2 separate regions of the Homo sapiens genome follow, and region 1 is linked to region 2. Evidence: promoter capture Hi-C in human tissues and cell types (Jung and others, 2019). All regions are on one chromosome and are shown on one strand. Each heading gives the region's core, a stretch centred on a gene start or on the middle of the fragment in contact. The rest is flanking DNA. Distances are from core to core; before and after follow the strand shown. Region 1 has its middle 22 kb from the start of ZNF267. Region 2 holds the start of STX4 (syntaxin 4).

Region 1 (6,166 bases), core at 3,207-5,706, 820 kb before region 2:
TACCACCTGTACAATGCTGTCCTCAGGTCCACAAGTGGAATATTTGACCACTAAGGGTGGGAGAGAGGCAGGTGAGGTGGGCCTGTTCTCAAGTCCTCCTAGTGATGCACATGAGCATAGGCTGTGGGCAGGGCAGGGGAAGTCCCAGACCTCTGGAGCTCATGCTAGGGCACCAGTGATGGCAGGCCTTCTGGAGCTGTTATTAGGCCCCTGGGAGATGGGTGCACCAAAATCTCAGAAATCGCCACTAAAGAATTTATTCATGTGCAAATAAATAAATAAATAAATAAATTCACTTACACTGTCTTATAATTATGTAATTAGTTTTGCTAGTGTGTGCTTTGTCTTTCTTATGCATTCAAATTATTGTCTGGATTTACTTGCTTTCAGCCTGAAAAACTTCTTTTGCCATTTTTTCATAAGGTCAGTTGGCTAGCAACAAATTGTATCAGTTTTTATTTACATAAAATGTTTTTATTTAACCTTCATTTTTAATAGCTAGTTTTTGTGGGTATAGGGTTCTTATTAGGCAGGCTTTTTCTGTGAGCATCAGACAAAATAATTTATAAAGAAGTAATTGAAAAGCTTCAGAGAAGGAAAATAAATCAAGACCTAAGGACACTGACTGGATTGAGCACCAACGTCATAGTGATGGCAGCTGGGTTTAAGATGACAGGGAGAATTGTCACTGAAGACAGTAGAAGTCTGGGGATCAAGTGGTCCTGACTGCAGCTGAATGGAAAGTTTATTTTGTATTTTATTTTATTTTAATTTTTGAGACAGAATCTCGCTCTGTTGCCCAGCCTAGAGTGCAGTGGCCCGATCTCAGCTCACTGCAACCTCTGCCTCCTGGGTTTGAGTGATTCTTCTGCCTCAGCTTCCTGAATAGCTGGGATTCCAGGTGCCTGCCATGATGCCTGGCTAATTTCCGTGTTTTTAGTAGAGACGGGGTTTCACCGTATTGGCCAGCTGGTCTCAAACTCCTGACCTGAAGTGATCCGCCTGCCTTGGCCTCCCAAAGGGCTGGGATTGCAGGCATGAGCCACCGTGCCCGGCCTGGAGAGTTTATTTGTTAGAGCCTCAGATATGGCACATGAGAGGTACACCAGCATGAACTCAAACATATTCAGAACTGGTGCCTTGGGGGAAAATCTATAGATTAAGTGCATGAGAAGTCACCACTTCAGTATCAGATGATGTTTGATTAAGAAAGTGTAACTCCAAATGTGGCAATCATGATCAAGGTTAAAGTTAGCACTAGTTATAACATAGGTGTGGTTGGTGGTGTCTCAGAAGCAAATAAAAGTTGTCAGTTGCTAAGAATGTGTTAATCATTTTATTCCACATGCTCTCATGCTGACTGTGTAGTTAAACATCCCTGTAAGTAGAAACAACTTCACTGTAAGCGCTATGTAAGCCTGGTGCAGGGGGCATTTTCTTCATTCCCAAAAAAGTTTTACATAGACTACCTGTAATATTGAAACGTAGGGACAACTGGGGACCATGTGTGAAGGCCCCCAGAAATTTCTTCAGTTAGCAAGGATGTTTGGTAAAGCAACACAGAAATTAAACAAAGTTTGAAACTATAGTTATTGCTTCTACTTTATTGGCAATAACTGAGACCAGACAACCCTCCTGGGCAAAATTACCTAAGAAAACAAGCTTGCACACGTTAAAGTTTGAAACCCATCTGTCCTACACTGATCTTTTCCAGGAATTAAATGTGTTCAGTTTTTCCTTTTGTTGCTCCCCTTTCCAATAATCTCGAGGCCAGGGCTGTCCTGCTTCTACAGGTGACATGACAGTTATGGGCCTGGAGGGAGACGAGCTGACAGTATCCCTTCTTTATAACCAAGTCTCAGGGACCACCATCCACACACACAGACTCACTCCAGGACTCCGCTGGGCAAATGGATGTTTCTCAGCTTTAGTAAAAGTGAGTGATCACGACTTACGTTGGTAGTGGCAGGAGGATTTTCTCAATGATGTAGATAACTCTCTCATAATTTTGTTCTTGTGTCTCACTGAATTATAACTATTTTCAGATAAAAATATAAATTTTAATATCATGAGCACATAAATTTACAGATGTTCGAAAGGATATTTGTAATTTTGTAATGGTATATGTTATAGGTAAGACGTTTATTTAGAAACAGAATGCTTGTTTTTCGGTCATGTAAGGAAAAATTAGCATTTAGACAAAAAGGTTTTTTTAGCAAGGAAATTTTACTTTCTGCAGAAAGGGTGCTCCTTGCAGATGGAACAATGGCAAGAGCACATTTGAACAAGGGAGGGAAGCAATTTTTATTTTTTATGTAGCTTGTCCCTGCTCTTGTGTCCTGTTTTTATTGGCTGGAGACAGACTTCATAATTTAAATTAAAACCTGATTGGCTAATAACTTAAAATTTTTTAAACAGGTAAAAGCAATGGAAAGATAAATGAAAAGAGGAAGTTGTTTATGAAAGGACTTAGAAAAGTAATAACATTCCTAAATAAGGAAGTGACAGGCTGTGAGCTGGGACATGCCTGTGAGCACATCCAGGACAGGTATTTCCGTTAAGGCACAAGGACATAGAATGTACTATGTGCCTGTGAGCATGTTTAACAGCTACATAGGATAGGGCTTAAACAAAGAGTTATTAGCACAAAGTAAGGAGGCTTGAAAGAAATTAGTCTTTAAAAGAAACTATTATTTCTAACACTTATTTATCCTGTAACAAGAATGGAAACTTTGAAGAGGAAACTTTTTACTTTCTGCAATTCCTTCCTTTTGATTTTATAGCTTTTTTTCTTTAAAATTTTTTAACATGTTTTGGTTTAGCTGTTTTGCTTGAGTTTTTAAAAGAAAAAGTTTTTCTGGTTGGTGAAATGCCACGGTAAAAGGGATAGCCAATTGAACTAGAGCACAAATATTGCTTTAATTATTTGGCAGAGTGTTCAGTAAAGGTCTTCTACAATATTATTACATACCTGTTTGGTGATGAATAAGGGGGGATTGATGGGTCAGCTCTTGGAAGTGCCTGACTTCACTGCATTAAGTTTTCAAGGAACACTAAATTTTTCCCTTGTTGTTGGAGACACCAGGTAAAATTGGTCTTGGAAGATGGAGGCTAGATGGCCCTCGGGGGCTGACCCGCAGGGTACTGCATTTTAGGAAATAGTAGCGAGAGCGTTTGACACAGTTTATTATCTCAGGCTGTAGGATTTTGAAAAGGAGCTACCATGTAGTCCATGTTTTGTTGATTAGAGGACTATTTGAGTGGAAAGGGGACAACCTGGGCCTCTAGCCTACCATGCACACGTGTTTAACGGTCACTTTTATTTAGATGCAGATGAAATATTTAATTTATTTTAACCAGCCATTTACATTTTGATATCCTGTTTTAATTGTTATTGTTTGCTTTAGGTTTTTTATTTTTACTGTAGAGACTTTGGTCTTGTTTTTGTGTCTGGGAGGAGTGATAACTAAACAGGCATTAAAAGTAGTAACTTGAGGTGAGTTAGATTTAGTTATATTAATAAGATAGGAAGTAGTTAAAGGGAAGAAAAGAAAAAAGATAGATAGATTACGTTTTTATAGCTTTAACTTGGTAGGGCTTAACCCTGGAACAACGGCCTATGACTTTGACGGTGATGACGCTTTTTTGACTCGGGTATGTGGTGTTCATTCTCTTCTGCTGTGGGAACCGCAGTCTTGGTGGGTTAGCAGCACAAGGTAGGGTTTTTCTTAGGCTGGCTTGAGTTTTTCTTCTTTTTATCCTTTGATAAGGACATGGTTTCCAGGCTGGTGCTGGTTTACTGGAAATTTTAAGAGTGGCACCTGTGCTAGAAGACTTTTAGTTTTGAGGAAAAGGAAAGTGGAAAATAAGTATGTAATTTTTGAGAAACTGATTTTTTTGTTGTTGTTTTAAATGTGCGGATATCAGCCGTGGAATGTAAGTAAGGCAACCTATAGGTAGTTTTTGACTTAAATTTCCTTTTTTAATTTTTACTTATGTTGTTTTTGAGGGAAAATTTGGGGTCCCTCAGAAAGTTAGAACTTTGCATATCCTGGGGCCCGAAGCCCCACGGTGACGCCTCCCGCTTCATTCCCGTTCAATGTAGCCTAGGGGATGCTGTGGCCCTGGCCCCTCTTAAGGTCCCGGCTTCCCTGCGGCCTTTACTGCTACCATGCATTGCGGCCTTGTGGGGATGAGGGTCCTTGTGACTTACCGCACTGCCCCCAGACCTTGCTCCTGCCAGAGACCCCACTGTCTAGCCCCTGGCCTTGGGCTGGGCTGGGCTGTGCTGTCTGACAGTTGTTTGGCCCCCTCCCTTGCACCTGTAGTGTTTGTCCCCCCCACGCCCTCGCAGGCTCTCACTGCAGCCTCTGTAGGAGCCGCTGGAGGTGGAAACTTGTTGGTATTAAACCTGTGCTGGAGAGCCCCAGTGGGTTTTTTGATGCAGTTGGAACAAGATTTTTTTAATAAGGGGTTTGGATAACATTTTTTTAATTTTGGTTTAGCAATATTTATTTTCCTTCTGAATTTTCTTTAGCATCTATTTAAAAAATGTTAATGTAGGTAAAAATTCACATTCTTATGTTTTCTTATAATTTTTTTCTAAAAGTATATTTTACTTTCCTTATATACCTTGCACACAAGTTGCTTCTTTAATAGTTTTACATTTAGGAGGCTTAATTATTTTTAAATTATATAATTTTTTGCATAAATTCCCTTTTATAAAATTTTTTAGGACTTTTACAATTTTTGACATGCCTTAACTTTTAGATAAACTTTTAGACTTTTTTTACACTATTTTTTCCCTAGTTTTATTTTTTGTGTTTTTTTATCTTTGTTTTTTCCAGTCTTTTTTTTTTTTTACTTATTTTTTCCTTCTATCTCTCTCCTTCATTTGCGTTTTCTCCTTCTCTCTGTCACCTCCTGTTTCCTCTTTCTCTCACACTTACTTGTTGGGTGGGATCTTCATGGCTGCAGTCCGTGCCCTGGGCCACTGTCAGCCTAGAGGCTCAGCAGATGCCTGCCATAAGTTGCATGAGTTATTAACCCTGGGCCAGAGGGTCCCCTTGTTTTTCCTCCTTACTTTTATATCCACAGCCCTTACACCATTTATTTTTACCTTCTCCTTTAAAGTACTGACCTTGCCTTCTTTCTTTTTGCATTCCTGAATTCCCTGACTTTTTCCTTTTACCTCTTTTAGAAAACTTTGGAACTTGCCAACAGATTTTTGCTTTTTGTATCTGCCCTTCTCTTTCTCTGTCTGCTGGTCTTTCCCTGCCTCTGCCAGCTGCCCATGCTGCTATTTTCCCCTCTCTTTCCCCTTCCCCTAGGGAGCAGCCAGTGGGTGTGGAGCTTAGCGTTTTTCTTCCCCCAAGAAGAAGGGAAAGGGAAGTTTTGAATATATTTGTTTACTACCGGAGGTTTGTGTGATCTTTAATCTCCCCCAATGGGGATTTTTCACCCCTTTTTTTAACCTCTAAGACAACCCAACTAAGGATTTTTTCACCGCCCCCCAGCCCCGCAGCTTTTCTTTCCTCTGTCTTGACTAAGGCATGCTTTACCGCCCCTGCAATTTCTTTTACCTTGGTGTGCTTTAACCAAGGAATGCTTTACCACCCCACGGCTTTTTTTCCTTAGTTCTGACCACCAAGGAAATACTTTAACTGCTCCTCCAGTGTTTTCGTTGTTTGGCTCATGCACAAGGTCGCCCAGTCTACATGGTATGTAAGGATCCTTTACTCCAGGTTGCCAACTGGTTTCTTTCTGCACTGCTGAGAGTCTGGGTTTATTTGTCATGCTGGGTGGGTTTTGATTCCTTACCCATAAGGCCACCGCAATGAGGCAGTGGGGCCCCTCCTCATGAGAGAGGACTAGAGACCGACCCCAGAGGAGAATGTATGGGCCACCATTTTGTTACATGTAAAATGTTTATTTAGAAACAGAATGCTTGTTCCTCAGTACTGCAAGGAAAAATCAGCATTCAGACAAAAAGTTTTCTTAGCAAGGCAATTTTACTTTCTGCAGAAAGGGTGCTCCTCACAGATGGAACAATGGCAAGAGCACACCTGAACAAAGGAGGGAAGCAATTTTTATCCTTTATGCAGCTTGTCCCTGCTACTGTGTCCTATCTTCATTGACTGGAGCCAGACCTCACAATTTAAGCTAA
Region 2 (6,990 bases), core at 2,704-5,203:
TTTTTGTATTTTTAGTAGAGATGGGGTTTCACCATGTTGGCCAGGATGGTCTTGATCTCTTGACCTTGTGATCCACCTGCCTCGGCCTCCATTACAGGCGTGAGCCACTGCACCTGGCCTATTTTTATTTTTAATAGAGACAGGGTTGGCCGGGCACGGTGGCTCATGCCTGTGATCCCAGCACTTTGGGAGGCTGAGGCAGGTGGATCACCTGAGGTCAGGAGGTCAAGACCAGCCTGGCCAACGTGGTGAAACCCCATCTCTACTAAAAGTACAGAAATTAGCTTGGTGCAGTGGTGGGCGCCTGTAGTCCCAGCTACTTGGGAGGCTGAAGCAAGAGAATGGCTTGAACCCAGGAGGCGGAGGTTGCAGTGAGCAGAGATGGCACCACTGTACTCCAGCCTGGGCAACAGAGTGAGACCCTGTCTCAAAGGAAAAAAAAAAAAGGGGGGGGGGTCTCACTATATTGCCCAGGCTGGTCTCAAACTCCTGGGCTCAACCAATCCTCCCACCTCAGCCTCCAAAGTGCTGGGATTACAGGCGTGAGCCACGGTGCCTGGCTAGCCCTCTATGATCTCTCCTTCTCCCATGACCTCTCTGATCTTACTTCCTCTTACTGTTCCCTTCCTCTGCCCATCCACACTGGTCTCCTTACCCCTCCCTAGACAAAGCACACTCTCAGCTTAAGCCTTTGCATTCACTTTTCCTTCTACCTAGAATGCTCATTCCCAGCAAACACCTTTAAGTCTCTTGTTCAGATGTTACCTTCTGAATGAAGCTTCCTCCACCTGCTTTCAACTGCAACTCTACCTCCTCCAGCATGCTTAGTCCCTCTTCCCCTGCTCTTTTTTCCTTAATGCTTATTATGTTCTAAATAATTCACTTATTTATTATGGTGATTGTCTACACCAGAAGGGAAGTTCCATGAGGACAGGGATCACTGGTTCACTGCTGTATCCTAAACAGTTCCAAAAAGGTCTGGCACACAGTAGGCACCCAATATGTAACTGCTGAATGCTTGCTGAATGCCAACCTCGCTGCCTACACCACAGCTCCTACGCCTAGAGATGAACATGTTGCCTGGGCGAAACAGGTGCAACAGGCCCACATGGACCCTCAACCACTCATGCCAATCACCACCACAGGCTTCCCCAGAAACACTGGTTCTGGGGCATCTGCTCTGCCTTGCCCCTTCTTCTGAGGCCTTAAATATGCTCATTCCTTGGAGTTCCTTTTCCAGAGATACATCTGCTTTCCTGGTTCCAGCTTCACCCTTCCAAGATGCCCAAGCTGCTCCATCTTCAATCTGGGGTCCCTGCTGAGCCCTGGGCCCAACTACTCCAACCCTGACCTCCTGGTATCCTCCTCACTGGGGACCCAGAGAGGGCCAGTCAGATCACTGCAAATCTCCTTACTAAGATATCACCCCAGGGGCCGCGCGCGGTGGCTCATGCCTATAATCATAGCACTTTGCGAGGCCAAAGCAGGTGGATCAGTTGAGATCAGGAGTTCGAGACCAGCCTGGCCAACAAGGTGAAACCTCATTTCTACCAAAAATATAAAAAATTAGCCAGGTGTGGTGGTGCACACCTGTAATCCCAGCTACTCGTGAGGCTGAGGCAGGAGAATCGCTTGAAGGAGGTGGAGGTTGCAGTGAGCCAAGATTGTGCCACTGTACTCCAGCCTGAGGGACAGAGTGAGACTCCATCTCAAAAAAATAATAATAATTAAAAAAATAAGATATCACACCAGGGGAGTTCCTCTTCAGTGTTGCCCCAAGGAAGTTCCTCTTCCTGACTTCTTGAATTCCACCTGTGGGACTAAGGATGTCCCTGTCACATAGATAGGAAACCTGCCAGTCATTTATGACTTCTCACTCTCCTTCCCTGGGCAGCGCCGTTAGCCACCAGGTCCCACGTGAGTAATGTCTTTATCCCCTATTGAACCCTAACTCCTCATCTTGACTCCCAGAAAACATGTGTCCCAGCTGGGCATGGTGGCTCACGCCTGTAATTCAGCACTTTGGGAGGCCGAGGCAGGAGGGTCACCTGAGGTCAGGAGTTCGAAACCAGCCTGGCCAACATGGTGAAGCCCAGTCTCTACTAAAACTACAAAAATTAGCTGGGCATGGGGGTGTCCGCCTGTAATCCCAGCTATTCAGGAGGCTGAGGCAAAAAAAGAAAAGAAAACATGTGTCCCACAGCCAAGACTAGGTCTTGTCTGGGGTCACAGTAACTTCCTATTGAATGGAAGAAAATAAAGCAGGGTGTTATAACCGGACTGAGCATCAGGAGACCTGGCTTCCTGACCTTGAGCAAGTTCTTTCTCTCTCTGAGCTCAGTTTCCCCATTTGGAAAAGTCATCCAATTGGACTCCATGATCTCTGCAGGCCCTTCCTTCATACACCTGTCATCTAATACTTCATGAAACATTTGCTGAAATGTCCTCATTTCTGAGAAAAAAAACCCACCTGGGTTTTTCTCATTCTTGTGTTGACGGAGTTATAGTTCTCATCAGCTTCCTCCTTCTGGGGCTCTATGGCTGTGGGAAGACACAGGGGTATTGGGGGTACTTGTCTCCATAGGATTTTTAGGGAAATATAATTTATCATAAAATGACTAAGGCTGAGCCTCTAAGAGGAGAAAGTAAGTTTATTTTTCTTTGCATTACATCACTGAGTTCCCATAGGTATGCAGAGGCCACCTAACAAAACTCCATCTCCCTGCCCAAAGAATGCCCAGTGGGCAGCGATAACTGTGTAAGTAAATGGTTTCATTGTAAATAAAAGAACCTGAGAGGCGGACTTGTGCTGTGGAGAGTACAATGGCCTGGAGGCCAGGAGACAGATGCTAGACCCAGGCCTGCTGTGTGACCTGGATATATCACTGGCTTCTCTGGGCCACACACTCCCCAGATATACCAACAACAGGGCAGGATCAGAGGGAAGGATCTGTCTGAGGTCCCAGGAGCTCACCCTTCAGCTGCAGGCGGATCTCCCTCCCCAGCTGTTTGATCTCATCGCGCAGGTTCTGCAGCTCCTGCTTCATGCCTGAATAAGAGAAGGCCAAGACTCCCAAACAGCAGCCCCCACCTCAACAAACCACTCTGGCCACCACCTGCGTGGAACTACAACCCCCACAATCCCTGGGGCGGAGCATGCGCCCTGCAGCCGGGGTTTCACTCACTCTCCTCGGGAAGGGGCGTGGCCAGGATGGTGACCTGCTGTTTCTCCAACTCCTGGACTTTATTCCCCAGTTTGACAATAGTCTGCCGAATTGTCCGGACCTGGGGAGGGTGACCGAGAGGGCTGAAAGAGATATGGGGTACTCCAGACCACGCTACTCCTCGGGTCCTCCTACACCCTCGCGAATCCAGGCGGAGACCCCAGCCCCTTACCTTGTGGAAGAACTCCTCGTCCGGGCTCCCCAGCCGTGCCGTGCCCGGGTGCACCACCAGCGCGACCCGCTCCTTGTCCTCTTCGTCCGAGCTGTCATCCCCCTGCCAGGCCCGGAGTCATTGGCACCACCGTTTCGCTGCGGCTCTTACCCCGCAGGACCCACAGGCTTCCGGGACTTTCCTTCCTGGCCATCAGCCACCCCTCCCTATCCCGAAGACCAGAAGTCCTGCGTTCCAGTTCGTCCGCCCGTCCCCATCCCCGCTGCCCTGGCGTCTCACCTGTCTCAGCTCGTGGGTCCTGTCCCGCATGGCGGCCTGAGCTCTCCCTCCCCGGCGCCAGAGCCGGGAGGCCCTCAAATTTGGAATTCCCGTACCCCGCTCACACTCTGACACTCCCCTCCCTCCCCCTGCGGACCCCAACACCCCCACGAGCCGCCAGAGGCTCCGTCCCTTGCACCGCCCACAGTCAATGGGAAGGCGCCGACCCCGGGGACCCCCCAAGGTTCCACAGGTTGGAATTCCCTTTTCTTCCCCGCTCCAGCTCCCGCAGCCTCAGCCCCGCCCCTCCGTGATAAATTCGGGGCATGCGCACATGGTCGCGTCTCTTCCTTGCCCGAGGCTGGGAAGGTGGAGTCGGAAGTTGTTGCGCCCCGAGCGGAAGCGGAGATGCCTGGACGCGAGAACTTGCTACCGTCACCGGAACCGTTGCATCTTCCAACGGAAATCTGGTTGCCAAAAGGGGTAGGAATACGTCATTTGTACGTAATCCGAGACACCCGCATCTCACATCACCCCATGGTGCCCCCACCGCGTCACGTGACCAGCCCGGTCCCAAACTCGTGGACCGCAGAATGTGACCCTGTGACTGTCACGTGTCCCGGCTCTGTCACCGCCGTCTCTGGGACGCCGTTCTCATCACGACGTCCCCGGCACCCCAACGACCGAGCGACGCCCACACGGCCCCCGCGAGGTGGGGAGGGGCGCGCCGACCACCCCCAGAGGCCTTTCGAGGCAGTGGGTGGTAGGACCCTTGCTGACCTCGCCTTTATTGCTTTCGGGTCCAGGGCGTGGGCGGACTGACGACTTAGCATTTGGGGCTGTCAGCATCATGGGACCTTGAAAATCGGGAAATAATAGGATCCGAGTCGTCAGCGTCAGAAAATTGCAGGGTTGTGTGGGCAGGGAATCTGGGGGTGGGAAGTGACCTCAGCCAAGGCAGAAATCTCTTCTTCCGCATCCTTCTGGCGCAGCCTCTGACAGGTGGGCGGCCAGCCGGCGCCCTCCTTGAACACTGCAGCCCGGCTGCACTCACCACCTTGTGAGCCGTCAGACCATGTCAGGGCAGCTCAGGCTAAGAAAAGTGTTTGTATTGATCACGCTGCCTCCCTGCCACTCACACCCCCCAGCCCCTGCCTTGCATCTGAGGCCAGGTAATGACTTTGTTCTTAACTGAATCTGGGGAGTTCCTAGCCCAGTACCAAGAACATTACGGGCCCTCTATAAATACTTGTGGACAGAATTTCAGGCTTTCATGTATCTGAGGATAAAGCCCCTGGTTCCTTGGTCTTCTTTAGGCTTCAGGCTTTCTGACTGTGACACTTCTCTAATCCTGGCTATCTAGATATTCACTCATTTTTTATTTTTAAAAATTTTTACGAGATGCGGTCTCACTATGTTGTCCAAGCTGGTCTCTAACTCCTGGGCTTAAGCAATCCTTCTGCCTCAGCTTCCCAAAGTGCTGGGATTACAGGCATGCACCACCATGCACAGCAACATTCAGTCATTTAATGGATATTTTTTGGGCACATAGTATGGGCCAAACACTGTTCTAGGGCTGGAGATACATCAAGGACTAATAGACAAAAATTCCTGCACTCGTGGAACTTATATTCTCTAGAAGGAGTCCCCAAGGTCACTCAGCAAGTCTCAGCATAGCCGGGAATGAATAACAGGTCTCCTGGACCCCAGGGCTCTGTCCAGGAAGCTTCTGTGAAGGTACAAGCAAGGAAAGGAATGGACCCTTTCTGCTATGCCCTGGTCAGGAAACCTAGATTCCTGGGACTGAGTTGCTATGGACTTCTGGAAATCGCTTCCTGTCTCTAAGTGTGGATCTCCCTCTGCACAGTGGGTAACTGTAGGGGGATGGGGAGATCATCTTTATGGGTATCGGCTGCTCTAAACTTCAGTGATGATGAGGTTGGAAACTGTCAAGTGCTGTGTGATTCTATGTGAGGAGTTTTGGCTCTTCTCCTCTTCCTGTTAAAACCCAGCTCAGGCAGGGTGTGGTGGCTCATGCCTGTAATCCCAGCACTTTGGGAGGCTGAGGCAGGCAGATCACCTGAGGCCAGGAGTTGGAGACCAGCCTGGCCAACATGGCGAAACCCTGTCTCTACAAACATACAAAAATTAGCCAGGCATGATGGCAGGTGCCTGTAATCCCAGCTACTTGGGAGGCTGAGACAGGAGGATTGCTTGAACATGGGAGGTGGAGGTTACAGTGAGCTGAGATCACGCCATTGCACTCCAGCCTAGGTGACAGAGTAAGACTCTGTCTCAAAAACAAAACAAAACAAAAAAAAAAAACCCAGCTAGTAGGAGAGTGGTGCCCTGATGAACCCACAGAGGGAATGCAGGGTTTTTCCGGAGGCCAAGCCCTGCCCAGTGGTGTCCCCTGGAGATGATAAGGAAAGATTCTCTGCTCCTGGGTCTTTCATGTCAGCCTCTGCCTCTTCAGTCACTGCTGCTTGCCTCCTGCATCTTTTGTCCCCTGCCACCCGACCCCCTTCCCCCTCCTACTCTGTGTCTCTGAGTGGCACACGGTGGAAGGGCTCTTGGACCCCTGACTCATAGTCCTGCATGGGATCTTAAATAATGCATTACTTCTCTCTGGGACTCAATTTCCCCATTTGGCGGCTTGGTCCTATAATTTCTGCCTTGCCTAAGGTAGGACTTGAACACTATCAAGTGAGGTTAGGAAGGATGTGGAAGGGGCTGGAAAACTGTTGAGGGTACCCTCCCCTCTGGGCTTTTTTTTTTTTTTTTTTTTCTTCTCTTTGAGGTCAGGTCTGGTTCTGTCATCCAGGCTGGAGTGCAGTGGTGTGCTCTCAGGTTCAGTCAATCCTCCTGCCTCAGCCTCCCAAGTAGCTGGTACTAAGGCACGCACCACCATGCCTGGCTAATTTTTGTATATTTTTTGGTAGAGACTGGGTTTCGCCATGTTGCCCAGGCTGTTCTCAAACCCCTGGGCTCAAGTGATCCACCCACCTTGGCCTCCCAAAGTGCTGGGATTACAGGTGTGAGCCACTGTGCCCAGCCTCTCTGAGCTTTTAATACTGTGGGTTCCAGCGTCTTCTGGGCCCCCTGGTCCCATCTTCCTCTTTGTTTCTCAGCGTCTTGATGGCATGCCATCTTGGTCCACTAAACTTCTCAGGATTATAATATTATTTCACTTGTGGTCTCTGGGTGAGATCGCAGGGCTTTGGAATGGTGACTTAAGGTCACAGGAAGCTGGACTCCAAGCCTTGTGGTGGAATATGGAGAGGAAAGAGGCCATTTAGAGAGATTGGCGCTGGGGGTGGAGCTCTCCAGAGCTGA

Evidence for each region. The method cuts DNA at HindIII sites, captures the fragments that hold promoters and counts their contacts. A contact is called where the count stands out against the background at its distance.
Region 1: a fragment that was not itself captured here is called in contact with the fragment with the promoter of STX4 in region 2 in 2 of the 25 tissues and cell types used here (lymphoblastoid cells and spleen).

The regions. Positions count from the first base shown.
Region 1 is chr16:31,848,619-31,854,784 of GRCh38, reverse strand. No RefSeq gene overlaps it. Among named protein-coding and RNA genes, the nearest start is that of ZNF267, 22 kb to the left of the region's middle. The HindIII fragment of the contact is 6,664 bases long and covers 1,125-6,166 here.
Region 2 is chr16:31,030,521-31,037,510 of GRCh38, reverse strand. It overlaps STX4 (syntaxin 4), which reads right to left and starts at 3,953. Exons shown (of 11, transcript NM_004604.5): 1 at 3,676-3,953; 2 at 3,397-3,498; 3 at 3,186-3,285; 4 at 2,975-3,049; 5 at 2,471-2,541. The coding sequence starts at 3,705. RefSeq lists enhancers at 3,095-3,605, 4,118-4,629. The HindIII fragment of the contact is 15,943 bases long and covers 3,080-6,990 here.